2 separate regions of the Homo sapiens genome follow, and region 2 is linked to region 1. The links are contacts of gene promoters, found by promoter capture Hi-C in blood cells and fetal thymus (Javierre and others, 2016). All regions are on one chromosome and are shown on one strand. Each heading gives the region's core, a stretch centred on a gene start or on the middle of the fragment in contact. The rest is flanking DNA. Distances are from core to core; before and after follow the strand shown.

The links. Contacts are between HindIII fragments. The CHiCAGO score rates a contact against its expected background, and 5 or more counts as called.
Region 2: a fragment that was not itself captured here is called in contact with the fragment with the promoter of KLHDC1 in region 1 in 2 of 17 cell types (activated CD4 T cells and fetal thymus); the score reaches 6.0 in activated CD4 T cells.

What each region holds. Positions count from the first base shown.
Region 1 is chr14:49,689,511-49,695,482 of GRCh38, forward strand. KLHDC1 (kelch domain containing 1) reads left to right here and starts at 3,610. Exons shown (of 13, transcript NM_172193.3): 1 at 3,610-3,780. The coding sequence starts at 3,685. RefSeq lists silencers at 3,755-3,804, 3,815-3,984. The HindIII fragment of the contact is 4,227 bases long and covers 3,102-5,972 here.
Region 2 is chr14:50,134,813-50,140,784 of GRCh38, forward strand. SOS2 (SOS Ras/Rho guanine nucleotide exchange factor 2) reads right to left here. Exons shown (of 23, transcript NM_006939.4): 17 at 5,130-5,247; 18 at 3,800-3,972. Among named protein-coding and RNA genes, the nearest start is that of VCPKMT, 21 kb to the left of the region's middle. RefSeq lists an enhancer at 4,122-4,826. The HindIII fragment of the contact is 3,697 bases long and covers 543-4,239 here.

The DNA of each region.
Region 1 (5,972 bases), core at 2,360-4,859:
CTGACCAACATGGAGAAACCCCGTCTCTACAAAAATACAAAAAAATTAGCCAGGCATGGTGGCGCATGCCTGTAATCCCAGCTACTCGGGAGGCTGAGGCAGGAGAATTGTCTGAACCCGGGAGACAGAGGTTGCGGTGAGCCGAGATGGGGCCATTACACTCCAGCCTAGGCAACAAGAGTGAGACTCTGTCTCAAAACAACAGCAACAACAACAACAAAACAACTCTGGAAGGTTAAATCAGAGACCACAAAAATGGTTAACTACAAAGGGGTGAGGGGATAGGGATGAAAGTGAAAACTTTCTTTACAGTGAGACTTTTAATCCATGTGCATGTTTTACATATTCAAAAAATAGAAAATAAAAAGGTGAGCTTAAAATTGAATGCATACTAAAACTAATACACCTAATTGTATATTAAATTGGTAACATAACATCACAAGTGATTTTTGAACACAGTTCTCTTTATTTAGTGAAATATTTTTCAAAGACAAAAAGTACAAAGAAATTTTTAATTTTTATGTAAGAAAGGATAGGAAATACGAATAGAAAGACATATAGTTAATTCTCATTACTGTACCTGTGATAGTTAGATTTTATAAGTAGCCACCAACAAATAATTATTGAATACTAAACCATTCCTACTAGGGGAAGTACAGAATTAGGTTCCTGTGAGCCTCTGGTGACAATGTTTTCATCAACTGATCAACATATAACCTTGTTTTGTTTTTTTTTTTTTTTTTTTTTTGAGACGGAGTTTCGCTCTGTCGCCCAGGCTGGAGTGCAGTGGCGCGATCTCGACTCACTGCAAGCTCCGCCTCCCGGGTTCACGCCATTCTCCTGCCTCAGCCTCCCGTGTAGCTGGGACTACAGGCGCGCGCCACCATGCCCGGCTAATTTTTGTATTTTTAGTAGAGACGGGGTTTCACCGTGTTAGCCAGGATGGTCTCGATCTCCTGACCTCGTGATCCCCCCGTCTCGGCCTCCCAAAGTGCTGGGATTACAGGCGTGAGCCACCGCGCCCGGCCTATAACCTTGTTTTATGTGTGTTTTTATGTAAAGACATCTTTACATTGTGATTCGTTAACACTGAACTCAGGGCCAAGAGCCCTATAACTCATAGCTGAAGGAAGCTTATTTATCACATGTATTTTCTCCATAAGGCACTCCCACTCTCAAATAATTCAACAAAATGAAAAAGACAGACACACACATACCAACAAACATAAAGCTAGTATGGTAGTATTAATAATTATTAACCTGGAGTGGAAGATACACAGGTACTCTTTGAACTATTTTTTCAACTTTTTTTGGTTTGCTACTTTTTATATTAAGAAATTGGAGAGAAAATAATCAATTCCAGTTGCCCAGCTTTCTCTCACAATCTGACCTCACAATTCCCCTTTTCCCATAAATGTTCCCAATCATAATTCTCTTTCTCTAATAAATTTTCAACTTCTTCTATGGCTCCTTCACCTGGCCAGCTCATAAAGTCCCAATACTTAAATGAACAATTATATGCTGATGACTCCAAAATCCCTATCTCTAGCCCTTAGCTCTCTTAGACTTCAAATCCAACTCAATATGCCTCCAAATGAACTCACCATTAGCCCTGCCCTCCCCCAAACCTGTTCCTCCTCCCATGTTCAATAACCTAGCGAAGGGCTCCACCCACCTCCCACCCAGTGACCAAGCTGGTAAACTAGGCATATCCTTGACTCTTCCCTCTCACGAATGAAAGTTCCTTGAACAACTTCCGTTCATCATTCAGTTCTTAACTTAGACTTTACTTTCTCTCAGGAACCTTCCCTGTCTTCCCTCAATCTGAGTTAAAGGGCCTCTGTACACCCAAGGTGCCCTGGACTTTTGCTATTTTCACACTTACTGCACGGTATGGTAATTGTCTGTTTGCTGGTCTATAGACTCCACCAGACTCTACAGTCCAGGAGGACAAATGCTCCATTTCAAAAATACAATACCAATATTACTAGTAACAATAAAGTGATGGAGTGAGAATTATGATTGACATATAGTTTACACTAAGTAAAATGCACATATCTGTATGCAGTTCAATGCATTTTGATAAATGTATACACCCATGTAACCACCACCTCAATCAAGATACAGAACATTTTAATCACTCCAGAACACTTCCTGTACTCCTTTCCATCAGTCCCCTCCCCCTCCCTACTCCCAAATGACCACTTTTCTGCTTTCTATTATCATAGATCACTTTTGTCTATCTTGAATTTCTTCCTTCCTTCCTCCCTTCCTCCCTCCCTCCCTTCTTCCTTCCCTCCCTTCCTCCTTTTTCTTTCTTTCTCTCTCCCTTTCCCTCTCTCTCTCTTTCTCTCTTTCTTTCTAAGGAACCTTGCTCTGTCGCCCAGACCGGAGTGCAGTGGCGCGATCTCGGTTCACTGCAACCTCCACCTCCCGGGTTAAAGCGATTCTCTTGCCTTTGTAGCTGGGATTACAGGCATGCGCCACCACGCCCGGCTAATTTTTGTATTTTTAGTAGAGACGGGATTGCCCAGGTTGGCCAGGCTGGTCTCAAACTCCTGAGCTCAAGTGATCCGCCTACCTCATCCTCCCAAAGTGCTTAGATGAGAGGCGTGAGCCACTGCAATCCAGTTACATTTGTAAAGTTAAATATGCATTTATCCTCTGACCCAGCAATTCCACATCTAGAACTCTACTCCAAAGATAGGCTTGTACAAATACAAAATAACATATGCATAACGTTTCATCGCAGCATTATTTATGATAGCCAAAAAAACCTGGAAATAACCGATATGTCCATCAATAAGAATCTGTTTGAATAAGCTATGACACATCCAATCGGTGGAGTGCTATGAAGCTATGAAAAGGACTGAGGAGACTGCTTGCTGTATCCTGATATGGATCGTCAAGTGAAAAGAGAAAGTTAAGGAACACTGTATATACTTCCTTTTGTGTAAGAAAAGGAGCAGATACTCTGTTTATTTGTATAGTCAAAAATAAACAATAGAAAGTATCATTAAAGTGCACCAGACTTAAGTGCCTTCTAATGTGATGCAATATGAAGTATTTTCCAAAAAAAAATCTGAACTAGAATCTAATAAAGCTTTTAGATACAGCTTCCAGCCTAAAAGAAGTATGGGGAAAGGATGCACAAGTTAATGAGAAAAGACACTGAGGAACCAAACCCAGAAGGTGGTACGGCTGTAGGAAAATAAGAAAACTAATCCATATAACAAACAAATGGCACAAGAGAGAAGGGAGAGAAGCTATTCTAGAGTAAAACAGACGTAAAGTCTTAAGAGGCGTTAACAACGAATTACGGTGCTGAACAAACCAACTATAGAAAAGACATTTTGAGATAATCAAGGAATCTGACTACAGACTGACTACTAAATGAGGCTGTACTGCCAAAACACAATTCCAAGAGAGAAGGAATCTGCGCGTGGAAAGCCCAGGCCCCTTGCCCACTGCGAGGAGCCAGAACGTCCCTCCACAGCCGCGCCGCCCCTGGCTCGACTTCCCGAGCGAGAGCCGCGGGACGTTGCAGACGCACTGGCTCCGCCTTCCCACCAATCTCGACCCTCGCCGCGTTCCGTTCGTGCGTGGAGCAGTCGGGGCTGGAGGCGAGGCCGCCGGGCGGGCAGGGGTTGTGGCGCGGCAAGCGGCGGGCCAGCGACGGCGCGAATGGCGGACTCTCAGCTGTTCTGTGTGGCGGAGGAACGCAGCGGCCACTGCGCCGTGGTGGACGGAAACTTCCTCTACGTGTGGGGGGGCTACGTGGTAAGGGGAAGAGGCGGGACGGGGTAGACTCGCGCCGGGAGACCCTCGGCCTGAGCGGACGCAGCGCCCGCCACACCCGCTCCCGAGGCTGCGGCCCAGGCCTGGCGCGCCCGGCGCCTGCAGCCCCCCAGCCCCTCCGCTGGCCGCCGCCCCCACAGCCGCGCCAGGGCTTGACGTCGTCCCGCCGTTGCTTCTTCTATTAAAGCCTCAGACCCGGCTCCGGGCCTCTTACCACTCTCCGCCCCTCTTTGCCAGCAATTCAGTAACCACGGTTTGCCCAATGCAAAGGCAGTTACAGCGCGATTAATTATTATCCTTAAATACTGGCGCAGACCTAGAAGGACCCGAGGACGCCGTGCTGTATCATTTTGTATATATTTCCTTATTCCCACGGCGCGATTCGAAATAAAATATCGAAATCACTGAAGCATTTAAATATTTATTTTCTTTTCTTTTTCTTTTTTTTTTTTTTTTGAGATGGAGTTTCGCTCTTGTTGCCCAGGGCTGGAGTGCAATGGAACGATCTCAGCTCACCGCAACCTCCGCCCCCCGCCCCGGGTTCAAGCGATTCTCCTGCCTCAGCCTCCCTAGTAGCTGGGCTTACCGGCATGTGCCATCATGCCTGGCTAATTTTGTATTTTTAATAGAGACAGGGTTTCCCATGTTGGTCAGGCTGGTCTTGAACTCGCGACCTCAGGTGATCCGCCCGCCTTGGCTTCCCAAAATGCTGGGATTACAGGCATTAGCCACTGTGCCTGGCTTGCATTTTAAATATTTCTAAGCTATTTTTAGTGGCGTTTCTTTACTAATGACTATTTTTTCTAGTCTCAAAATAGACGCATGTTAGCAATAATATGCTAAGAAATATTATGCTTTAAAATTCTTACTACAATGGAGGTTTGAGCGTATGTGTGTGTTGTGTGTCCATAATCACAGAATTATAGAAGCAAGAATGGTAAAGCTGGAAAACAGGAATACTATATGCCAACCCTCTTAGTTTACAGATTTTTTTTCTTAAGCCATCTGGAAGTTCTACTGATAGTAGAACCTACATCTTCTGTCTCCCTACCATTATGTGACAGACCTGTAACGTGACTGAATCATATTGAAATGACCAACATACAGGCATACCTCGAAGTATTGCAGAATACTTCGTATGACTGCAATAAAGCGAGGTCATACGAATTTTTTTGGTATCTCAGTGCATATAAAAGTCATGTTTACATTGTAGTGTGTTAAGCATGCAATAGTATTATGTGTAAAAAAAAAATGTACATACCTGGCTGGGCGCGGTGGCTCACACCCGTAATCCCAGCACTTTGGGAGGCTGAGGCGGGTGGATTACCTGAAGTCAGGAGTCCGAGACCAGCCTGGCCAACATGGTGAAACCCCGTCTCTACTAAAAACACAAAAATTAGCCGGACATGGTGGCGGATGCTTGTAATCCCAGCTACTCGGGAGGCTGAGGCAGGAGAATCACTTGGACCCGGGAGGCGGAGGTTGCAGTAAGCCAAGATTGCGCCATTGCATTCCAGCCTGGGCGACAGAGCGAGACTCCGTCTCAAAACAAAAAAACAAAAAACTGTACATACCTAATTTCAAAATTATTGCTAAAAAATGCTAAGGATTATCTGAGCCTTCAGCGAGTTGTATTCTTTTTGCTCATGGAGGGTCTTCCTCTATGTAGTTGGCTACTGACTGATTAGGGTGGTTGTTGCTGAAGGTTGGAGTGGCTGTGGCAGTTTCTTAAGACAAGACAATGAAGTTTGCCACATTGAGCCTTCCTTTCACAAAATATTTCTCTGTAACATGCAATGCAGTTTTGATGTGTGTGTGTGTGTGTGTGTGTGTGTGTGTGTTTTGAGACAATCTCTCCTGCAACCTCTGCCTCCCAGGTTCAAGCGATTCTCCTGCCTCAGCCTCCTGAGTAGCTGGAATTACAGGTGTGCACCACCATGCCTGGCTAATTTTTGTATTTTTTACAGGCGTGAGCCACCGTGCCCAGCCATGAAATGTATTTTCTTAAATAATAAGACTTGAAAGTCAAAATGATTCCTTGATCCATGGGCAACAGAATGGATATTGTGTAGCAGGCATGAAAAGATAAATCTTGTAGATCTCCCATCAGAGCTCTTGGGTGACTAGGTGTGTTGTCAATGAGCAGTGAGTGAGATTTTCTGAGCAGCAGTTCT
Region 2 (5,972 bases), core at 1,141-3,640, 440 kb after region 1:
CCTGTAATCCCACCACTTTGGGAGGCTGAGGTGGGTGGATCACCTGAGGTCGGGAGTTTGAGACCAGCCTGACCAACATGAAGAAACCCCATCTCTACTAAAAATACAAAATTAGCTGGGCGTGGTGGCGCATGCCTGTAATCCCAGCTACTCAGGAGGCTGAGACAGGAGAATCAATTGAACCTGGCAGGCGGAGGTTGAGGTGAACCGAGATCACACCATTGCACTCCAGCCTGGGCAACAAGAGCGAGACTGTCTCAAAAAAAAAAAAAAAAAAAAAGAAAGAAAGAAAGAAAGAAAGAAAGAATGATTATAAAGTTAAACCTATCTGTGCTAACTTCTAGTATAAAAAATGTTTTTATCTGAGCCAAGCCATGATGGCTCACACCTGTAATCCTAGCAGTTTGGGAGGCTGAGGCCGGGGGACTGCTTAAGCCCAGGAATTTGACACCAGCCAGGGCAATATGGTGAGACCTCTCCTCTTAAAAAAAGCCTAATAAATAAAATGTTTAAAATTTTTGTCTTTATCAAAAAATATTTTAAGCTTAAATTTAAGTTTTAACGTAGAAAATTCAGGTGATTTAGCACTGCCAAAAAAAGAGAAAAAAAGAAAAAGAAACAGTAATCTTACAAACCAGAAATATCATTGTTTACATTTAAATATTAGACTATCTTCCAATGATTTTACTGTGCATGTAAATATATGCATGTATATATGTATTTATATATAATTATTAATAATTTATATATATATTTTCCTGAAAAACTGGGATATCAATTTTAATCTTTCTGAAGTTTATATTCAATTAACTTTTTTCAATGTGGTTTGCTTTTTTTTTTTTTTTTTTTTTTGAGATGGAGTCTCACTCAGCCTTCCAAAGTGCTGGGATTACAGGTATGAGCCACCTCACCCAGCCAGTTTGCTTATTTTACAAAATACAAATTTTAACTCTATAGTATTTCATCAGATGGATATTTCAGAATGTAATAATCTCCATATAGCTAGTTATCCATATAGGTACTTTCTAATTTTTTGCTATTATAATAATTATTTTTATTAACTCCTATATATAAATTTTTCTGTACATTTTTTATGATTTCCTTAGAAAAATTCCTTAGCAGCAAATTACTGGATTTAGCTTTATTTAATTTTGAAGTGGTTTAGAAGCATATATAAAAATGGTACTAGGTTTTAGCTTTAGCAGTAGGCAAAATGAGCTTTAAAATTTCTAGTATAAAATTCTTCCCATTTTTAAGGCATTCTGCCAATTTCAAGAAAATTGTATTACTCTTTTAACAATACTGAAACAATGTGTTCTTATGTTCAGGTTAGCTAAATTAAATATTAGCCACTAGTAATTAAAGGCTTTCAGAAAGCTATAACAGCAGTATTCTTGATTTCCTCATCCTTTGCTCTATTTTAAATACTATTTATTTAAGTATGATTTGAAAAGTGAATAGCTACTTTGTCTACATTTTAAATTTATTTTGTTTGACTCAATCATATAGAAGACACTTCCTCCCAAAAATGCTTTAAATGGTGGTAGGAACCCTAGACCACACCACAAACACCAATTAGCAGGTATGGTTCTGAGATATAAATACTAAAAGTACTATTTCAAGCATACCGAATTAAAGTGTAACATTATTCCTGTGGGGACCATATTTCCTTAGCTCTCCGAAGCCCCACATCACAGAGGGCGGGTTCAATGGTGAGAGGGGATGAAATAGGTCACCATCAGTAGGTTACCACCTTTATTTTTTTTAAGAGCAAGTATCTTTTTTTTTTTTTTTTGAGATGCAGTCTCGCTCTGTCACCTAGGCTAGAGTGCAGTGGCTCTATCTCAGTTCTCTGCAACATTTGCCTTCTGGGTCCAAGCGATCCTCCCACCTCAGCCTCCTGAGTAGCTGGGATTACAAGCACGTGCCACCACACCCAGCGAATTTTTGTATTTTTAGTGGAGACAGAGTTTCACCACGTTGGCCAGGCTGGTCTTGAACTCCTGACCTCAGGTGATCCACCCACCTCAGCCTCTCAAAGTGCTGGATTTACAGGCATTAGCCACTGTGCCCGACCTATCATTTTTATAAATGGTATGCTTTAGGTGGTCTTTTTCTTAGGACTTTAGGGTACTTTGTTTTGAACCGGGAACAAAGAAGTTTCTATCTCATAATTTAGGAGGGTGGAAGTAATGGTGGATATTTTCACTCAATATGCCCAATTTGCATGCAGATTATGTCTAAAAAGTTTAGCGCAGTTTTTAATATGACACGTAAACTTATTCTGGTTGATAGTTATAATATGTTCCCAAGTTCAAGTATAATATAATAACATTCATTTAGCATAAACATAATATCATAGTTTAATTTAGAAGGTTGTTTCATATTTTATAGTACTATAGTATCAATATTACACACTATTGCTCAAAATAGAACATCAATCGACAGGATGTTAGAAAAATCATCTTCTGCCAGGCATACATATACCACTTTGCTGACCCTTTTCCTATTTAAACACACTGTTCTTATGAATTATATAACGTTATTTTGCTACATGTAACATTATCTAAAATGGCTATCAAATCTAGAAATGAATTTTCTTTTTACTGCATGGACATCATTCTACTTTGTCATTCACTTTTTATGGTGTAGCTTGAACCAACTACACAAAGAAGCAATACTTTCAAAAGAAAGTACTTAGTAACAATATTAACAACTGCAGATAGTGTAGAATGTCTAATGTTTAACATGCTATCTACTGATTAATTTTTTTCTATTATTTTCATAGCAAGACAAATAATTATGATATTTCTTACAGGTCACACAAGATCTAAAATTTTTTTTTAATTTTTAAAATTTTTAATTTTCATGGGTACATAATAGGTGTATATATTTGTAGGGTATAAGAGATGTTTTGATACAGGCATGTAATGTAGAATAATCCCATCATGGAGAGTGGGGTATCCATTCCCTCAAGCATTTATCCTTTGTATTATGAATAATCCAATTATACTCTTATAGTTAATATTTTTTATTTTATTTTTTGAGACGGAGTCTCCCTCTGTCACCCAGGCTGGAAGGCAGTGGCATGATCTCGGCTCACTGCAGCCTCCACCTCCTGGGTTCAAATGATTCTCCTGCTTCAGTCTCCCAAGTAGCTGGGATTACAGGCACCCGCCACCATGCCCGGCTAATTTTTTGTATTTTTAGTAGAGACAGGGTTTCACCATGTTGGTCAGGCTGGTCTCAAATTCTTGACCTCAAGTGGTCCTCCCGCCTCAGCCTCCCAAAGTGCTGTGATTACAGGCGTGAGCCACCATGCCCAGCCGATACTTATAGTTATTACTACTATTATTATTTTGAGACAGAAGTCTTACTGTGTCACCCAGGCTGGAGTGCAGTGGCGCTATCTCGGCTCACTGCAACCTACCCCTCCTAGGCTCAAGTGATTCTCCCACCTCAGACTCCTGAGTAGCTGGGACTGCAGGCACCCAGCACCATGCCCAGCTAATTTTTTTTTATATTTTTAGTAGAGACGGGGTTTCGCCATGCTGCCCAGGCTGGTCTCCAACTCCTGATCTCAAGCGATCCGCCCGCCTTGGCCTCCCAAAGTGCTGGGATTACAGGCGTGAGCCACAGTGCCTGGCCTCTTACAGTTACTTTTAAATCTGCAATTAAATTATTATGGACTGTAGTCACCCTGTTGTGCGATCCAATAGTATGTCTTATTCATTCTATTTTTTTTTTTTGGTACCCATTAACACGTTCTCTTCTAAAGATATGCAAAGAAAATATTTACCCTCATATCTGGTTCTATCCGTAAACAGTAAGGCTGATTCTGATACTGCTGAATTTCTCCAGTAATTTCAGCTACTTTCCTCCTCTTACTGAAATTGATTAAATCTTTCCCTTTCTTTTTTAAAAAATCATTATTCCCTTCTTCGGTCTTCAGAATATTTGTTAAATATATTCCTAGTAAAAAAAAAAAAAGAATTTAAAGAAAAGTTATTTTAAATTTTGTTATTTAATCAATTATTTGGGAAAACAACTGATCTAGTAAAGTTGAAAGACATCCTATACTATTCAGCAACTCTACTACTAAAATGTTAAGTCTCTGATAAACAATCATTAACTCTCCATTAAGCATTTTTTAAAGAGAAAGAATTTAAAATAAAAAGAAAATAAAAGCTACTGGCTTGTACAAAAATAAAGGCTGCTAATCTAAGAAATGGCAAATTAAGCTTTTCTAAACTCTAATTTCACCAAGTGCAAATTGTGTTAAATCTATTCTGACCAAATATTTTAATATTTGATTATAAATATTTAATGCCAAGTATCTTAGGTGATTATTAATAAATTAATTTTAAGCCAATTTTGGTTAATAAGTCTATAGGCTTATAAACTAATTCTGTTTTTTCAGAGACTGTAATTTAGATAGAAAAATAATTACTTCTCATTCATGAACAATAAAAAAGTTTTTAGTCCCTTTTTCATGCGTAATTGCTGATTCATTTAAATTGGTGGTTCTCAGCTGGGGACAATTTAGTCCCCCAGGGGATATTTAGGAATGTCTAGAGACATTTTTGGTTACCACAACTCCAGGGTGCTATTGGAGTGTAATGAATAGAGGCCAGGATGCTGCTACAGATCCTATTACGCACACGACAGCCCATCACAACAAAGAATTATTTGGCCCAAAATACCAAAATTGTTGAAGTTGACAAAACTTGATTTAAATCATTCAATTTCAATCATACACAACAATATTTTAATTCTAAATTTAAAAATCACATAGAAGCTTTTAATAAATTAAAGAGAAAGCAAACACTGTAGATGTGACATAGATAGTTATGATAAAAATAACAGTTACCATTTCATGAGTGCGTCCTATGTGCTAGACTTATTAGGTAGTACAGACAAAATATTTTTAATCCTTATTTATAACAACCCTATGAGATATTATAGTCTTCATTTTATAGAAAATAGAGAGTTTTATTATTTATTAATACAGAGAGCTAATAAAAGTAGATGAGCTCAGATATAAAATAAAGATAACATGCCTCTGAAGACTGCTCTCTTTTGGCTATCACACGCTCACCCTCAAAATATATCCATATTTAGTAACTTACCAAAAAAAGGCACACAAGGTGGATTGATTGACTTAAGTTTTACTAGGTATTTTTTAAAGTGATCTTGACTTAATTCCACAGCTTCGTCCAAAATTTTCCTTTTCCTTTCCTGCAGTGCCTTAAAGTATACATAAATTGAGTATAAATTTTTTACAATTCAATCATATTTTATAAATGCAAACCTTTAAATTTTATAAAATTTTGCAAATTATCTGGAAAACAATTTTTTTACATTAAAAGATGAGTGGTATTCCTTTGTACACTTACCTGAAGTGATTTCTCCTCTCTTTATCTATAAATATAAAACCCATAATTTACTCATATAAATTAGAAGATCAAGCAATACAAAAAATTCTACGTCATGCCTTGTGCGTTATTTTGACTAGCCAGGGTTTCAAGTCATAGCTGTAGAAGATGAAAATTATAACCCCTGAACATTCAAATATTTTTCCACTGAAAGATCTTTTGGGGCTAAAGGTTGGGGTTTTGTTAAGGAGAAGACAACTATCAGAAGACAAGAAGACTTGAACAAAAATTTAGTGAATGAAGTAAACTAGCATTTCTTTTATACTTCATTACTAGATCTTCTTATTGAAAATTAATTTTTACTTCAGAAAGAATATACACACACACGTAAACCCCAGAGCGAACACTATGCTTGATGGAGAACCATTCAGTCAATTTCCTTTAAATCAAGGAAAAAGCCAAGGGTATAACATTGTAGCTTTTATTCAATACTATACAGAAGTCCTAGCTAGCATGGACAAGTATAAGAAATAAAGAGCTAGAGATTGGAAAGAAAAAAAAATGTCACTATTCACACAGAGGATATGACTGCCCATG